Linked DNA regions of Homo sapiens: region 1 is linked to region 2. Evidence: promoter capture Hi-C in 16 types of primary human blood cells and fetal thymus (Javierre and others, 2016). All regions are on one chromosome and are shown on one strand. The core of a region is centred on a gene start or on the middle of the fragment in contact, and the rest is flanking DNA. Distances in the headings are between cores, read along the strand shown.

The links. The method cuts DNA at HindIII sites, captures the fragments that hold promoters and counts their contacts. A CHiCAGO score of 5 or more calls a contact.
Region 1: a contact is called between a fragment that was not itself captured here and the fragment with the promoter of TP53I11 in region 2, in 11 of 17 cell types (monocytes, total CD4 T cells, non-activated CD4 T cells and 8 more). The highest score is 8.4, in monocytes.

Annotation. Positions count from the first base shown.
Region 1 is chr11:45,120,392-45,123,091 of GRCh38, reverse strand. The region is part of intron 3 of LOC105376652 (a long non-coding RNA gene); the gene reads left to right. It also overlaps a transcript of PRDM11 not described here. Among named protein-coding and RNA genes, the nearest start is that of PRDM11, 25 kb to the left of the region's middle. The HindIII fragment of the contact is 566 bases long and covers 1,101-1,666 here.
Region 2 is chr11:44,949,574-44,952,273 of GRCh38, reverse strand. TP53I11 (tumor protein p53 inducible protein 11) reads left to right here and starts at 1,391. Exons shown (of 7, transcript NM_006034.5): 1 at 1,391-1,597. RefSeq lists silencers at 1,202-1,461, 1,492-1,621. The HindIII fragment of the contact is 12,322 bases long and covers 1-2,700 here.

The DNA of each region.
Region 1 (2,700 bases), core at 134-2,633, 170 kb before region 2:
GGCCATCAGAGAAATGCAAATCAAAACCACAATGAGATACCATCTCACACCAGTTAGAATGGCGATCATTAAAAAGTCAGGAAACAACAGGTGCTGGAGAGGAAGTGGAGAAATAGGAACACTTTTACACTGTTGGTGGGACTAGTAAACTAGTTCAACCATTGTGAAAGTCAGTGTGGCGATTCCTCAGGGATCTAGAACTAGAAATACCATTTGACCCAGCCATCCCATTACTGGGTATGTACCCAAAGGACTATAAATCATGCTGCTATAAAGACACATGCACATGTATGTTTACTGTGGCACTATTCACAATAGCAAAGACTTGGAACCAACCCAAATGTCCAACAACGATAGACTGGATTAAGAAAATGTGGCACATATACACCATGGAATACTATGCAGCCATAAAAAATGAGGAGTTCATGTCCTTTGTAGGGACATGGATGAAACTGGAAGTCATCATTCTCAGCAAACTATCACAAGGACAAAAAAACCAAACACTGCATGTTCTCACTCATAGGTGGGAATTGAACAATGAGAACACATGGACACAGGAAGGGGAACATCACACTCCAGGGACTGTTGTGGGGTGGAGGGAGGGGGGAGGGATAGCATTAGGAGATATACCTAATGCTAAATGACGAGTTAATGGGTGCAGTACACCAACATGGCATATGTATACCATGTATACATGTATACATGGTATACATGTGTAACAAACCTTCACATTGTGCACATGTACCCTAAGACTTAAAGTATAATAATAATAAAAAAAATACCATGATATCTTTTAAATGTCTCTAGAACCTGTACTGATAACCCACTTTCTTAGCTGATATTCTGTTTCTCTCTGTGTGTGTGTGTGTGTGTGTGTGTGTGTGTGTGTCTGTGTGTGTGTCTGTCTGTGTCTCTCTTCTTAGTAGGGGTTTATACATTTTATTTACTTATTTAAAGGCCTAACTTTTATCTTTGCTCATTTTCTCCACTGTGTATTTTTTTTCCTATTTGATTTCTGCTTTCATCTTTACTATTTCTTTCCTTCCACTTTCTTGAGGTTTAATTTGCTGTTGTTTATCTATCTTCCTGAGAGGGAAGCTTAGATTCATTAATTTTCCGTATATCTTTTTCTCTAAGAATTGCATTTAAGGCTATAAATGTTTCTGTAACCACAGCCTTTAGATGCAGCTCACAATTTTCATTATCCCACTCTAAATATTTGCTGTTGTAATGTTTCCTTTGGCCCATGGACTATTTAGCAGTGTGTTGCTTAATTTTCAAGCATTTAGAGATTTTCTAGTTGCCTTTTTATATAGATTTCTAATTAACTCCACTCCAGTTAGAGAGCATATTCTGTATAATTTCAGTTCTTTGAAATTTGTGTTAATTGCTTTATGACCCATTGTGTAGTCTATTGTGGTAAATGTTCCACAAGCACTTCAAAATAATATTCATTCTGCAGTTATTCAATATAATGTTGTATATACATTAACCAGATAAAATTGCTTAATTGTGTTGTTTAAATATTCAGTATTTCACTGTTTTTTGTTTGCTTGCTTGTTTTAGCATTTTCTGAGAGAAGTGTGTTAAATCTGTAACTCTGATTTTGAATTTGCCCATTTCTTTTTTAAAAATTCTGTTACTTTTGCTTTGCATATTTGAAGCTTTGAAATGAGGAGCATACTAATATGGGGAAGTTACTTCTTTAAGTCTACTTTATCAGATAGTAATATAACCACACCAGCTTTTTGTTAATGGTTTCCAGCAATATCTTTTCATTCTTTTCCTTTCAACTTGTGTCCTCCTATATTGTGTGTATCTCTTATAAACAACTAATATTTGCATCTTGTTTTTTTAGTTCAATCTGACAATTATTTCATATTATACTATTTATCCATTTATAATTAATGTAATTGCTGATATAGTTGGTAGTATCAAACTACCATCGTGTGATTTGATTTTTATTTGAACCATCTATTCTTCGTTTTTTAATTCCTCCTTTCCTGCCTTTCTTGACTTATCGACTATTTTTGTCACTTCTGTTAGCTTCGTGGTTATATGTTCTTTTTTTCTTTCAGTGGATCTAAACTGCATCCCTGAATTATTACAGTCTACCTTAAGGTTGCACTGTTACTTCTTCTTGAACAATGCAAGAACCTTCAATGCAAGAACCTTACAACAGTTTAACTCAACTTTATCTGCTCTTGCCCTTTGTGCTATTATTGTCATATATTGGTACTCATACATATATTATGAGCTGAAGATACATTGTCATTATTGCTGGTTTAAGTAATCAATATTGTTTTATGTTTACCTACATACTTATTGTCTTGGGTACTATTCACTCCTTCCTGTGGTCTGTTCTCTCTGGGCTCATTTTCCTTCACCATGAAGGACAGACTCTCTTTTGATTTATTGTGATACTGGTCTGCTGGTGATGATTCTGTATGTGGTTTTTTTTTTAATGAAAATATATTTCACCTTTAATTTTAAAGGACATTTTAGTGGATATAGAATTCTAAGTTGGCAATATTCTTTTTCTAGCTTCCATAGATTCTAGTGAAGACCAGTGGTCAGTTTTACTGTTACTTCTTTTAAGGTAATGGTTCCTTTTTTCCTCTAGCAGCTTTTTACTGTTTGTCTTTGTCTTTGTCTTTCAGCAGTTTATTATGAGCCTGCATGTGGTTTTACATTGTATCT
Region 2 (2,700 bases), core at 142-2,641:
TGCACAGTAAACATGAGCAGCTCCTATTAACTCTAAATCTCTACAGCAACCATAGCCGGTTCTTACTATTGGTTGCTCTAGGTGACTTACTTTGTCCAAGGCCACACAGGCACTAAAAGGCAGAGTCAGGATTTGAACCTAGGTGATCTGGTTCCAGAGCCTGCTCTATTAACCGTTAAGGAACTGGTGCAGACAGAACCGAGACCTGGAGTCAGAATGCCCACCTAGCTAGATGCCTGAGGCAGCCACTCACCTCTTTCTGTCTTATTTACTTGTGAAATGGAGCATGTCATCAGCCTTGCCTTCCTTTTCCCGCAGCCCCCCACCCCGGTTCCTGGCCCACTGTGACCATCAGATCAGATGAAAGAGATCCAGGCATTTCTCTAAGGAGAGCACAGGGTGGTGGGGGTTGGGGTGGGAGAGAGCACATTATTTTCCCACCATAAGGGGTTGAAGGAGCCCAGAATTTGGGGGTGGGGCCTTGTCTGTAGGAGCCTGGTTCTCTCAGGTTGACACGCCACCAGAGAGCCTCCATGACCCCCAACCCTCATCCTCACCCCAGCCCCCCATAGGATGTGTAGAGACAAAAGGTTTGACAACTGTAGCGCCAACAAGCGTCCTAGAGCCCCAGATAAGATCCTAGCCTCCTGACAGCGCAACTGACAGCAGCATCTCTGAGGCTGGATTTTAGGGTGGAGTATGAAGAAGGTGGCCGTAGTGACAGTGGGGTCATGTTATTTGGCCAAGTCACACCAAGCAGGGAGAGAGAAGGGTGGGCCTAGGCTGGAAGCCTGAAGGCTGAGTGAACTCAAACTTTAACGACCATGGCCTGTAAAATGGGACTAAGCACAGCGCCCTTATGGGTTGCTGTGAAAATCAAATGAGTTAATACTTGTAACTCCTTTAGCATATGGTGTCTGGCATCAGAGAGTGCGCAGCAAACGGTGACTATTGTCGTGACTGTGTTATTACACACTTGGGTATCACCGCCAGCCAAAGCAGTCCCTTCCATTTCAGGCACCGGCCTGGGCCCGGGAGACACCGCAAGGCTATTTAAGATGGTGTGGTTTGCCCATCTACGTTGATCGTCCCAAGAAAGGGGCACCGTCTGCAGAACTTGCCAGGAAAGTCATCCTGGGCGGCGCGGGCCACGCCAGGGTCTCCCCGCGCGGCTTCCTCCCCCGGCGCCTTCTCTCGGGCGCGCGTGCGCCCCCTGCAGGCGGCCCCCGGGAGAGCCTCGCGGGGGAGCCGGGAGCCTGGTTTCCCCGCCAACCCCCATCCCGCCCGCCCCGGCGGCCACCCTGGGGGCGAGGCAGCCCGGCGCGTGGGAGGGGACGGCGCGCCATTGGCTTGTGCGCGGAACCGAGAGGAGGGACCAGCGCGGGCCGCCAGACTCGGTAAGCCCCGGCCGCGCAGGGCGCCGCGCGCAGTCCAGCCGGCCCGGCCCTGCCCTGCCCTGCCCTGTCCTGCCCTGCCCTGCCCTGCCCTGCCCTGCACTGCCCGGCCCGGCACGGGCGGCGCGATGTGAGGCGTCCGAGCCCGGAGCCTCCGCCTGGCATCAGCTCCACGTAGCCCAGCGCCGGCACGCGCGAGGCCCGTAAGTTCTGCTCCCCGCCGCCGCTTCCGAGCCGCGGACTTTCCCCTCCCGCCGCCCGCCGCCTGCGCAGCGCAACCCAGCGGGGCTCCTGCGGCCGACGGGACCGCAGAGGGGCGGCCGGGACCCCGCGCGCGCTAACCGGGCGCCCCGGGACATCTCGGCACCCGCTGAGCCCGCTGGGACCCCAGGGGGTCGCCTCCCCAGCTCCCCAAGGCGCCGTCCCGCAGCCCCTTCCGTCTCCCCTGCGCGCTCTCCCCTCGCCGCCCCTCCCTCTGACTCGGTTTCCCCTCTCCCCCGGCTCCGCGGTCGCCCTCCTCCTGGACTGCTTATTTCGTCCTCGGCCACTGCCTCTCGGGCTCGAGCTTTCTGCTTCAGAGCAGGAGAGAAACGGAGCGAAAGCAGTTTCTGTCTCCCCGGGGTCTGACTCGGTCCCCCGCGCTCGGTTCTCTGTCCCCTCCCCCTCCCGCCATTGTTCCCGGCAGGAGGAGTGCGCGGCGCAAACTTGCGAGTTCCCCCAGTCTTTGCCCCCGCAGGGCCGCGGACGGAGGTGGTGGCGGAGTTCCCGCTGCCCACAAGTCTGGCCCGACCTTCTGGGGTGGGGGCCTGGGGGCAGGGGCCCTGGGCCGGAGAACCCGGGGCCGCCTAACGGCTCGGAGCTCACCGCCGGGGGACACCGGCGCTGAGGCCTGGGTCTCAGAAAGTGGGTGAGTGTCTGGAGCGGGGACATCAGGGACAGATTGCAGGGGGAGGGGCGAGGCTGAGAGAGTCCCCCGTCCCCAGGCTGGAAAGGGGCGGGCAGAAACCCAGGCCGCGCCTTAGCCCAGTTAGGGGGTGGGTAGGGGACGCACAGGTGGAGACGCCCCCCACTCTCCCCAAAGTCGCGCGATCTGCAGGAAGGGTACAGTGTGGGGCCACTGGCCGGGCGCTGGGTGGGTTAGGGCCCCTGCCGTGGGCAGAACACTCGCACCTACCCGGGGGAGGCTGTGTGGAGGAAGGGCCAGAACGCCGCGCCCACCCCGGCGCGCCCCGCTGGGCGGGGCGGGGCGGGGCGCTCGCCTTGGGTCCCCTCGCTCTACCTTCCTTCGCCCTGACCCAGTCTCGGG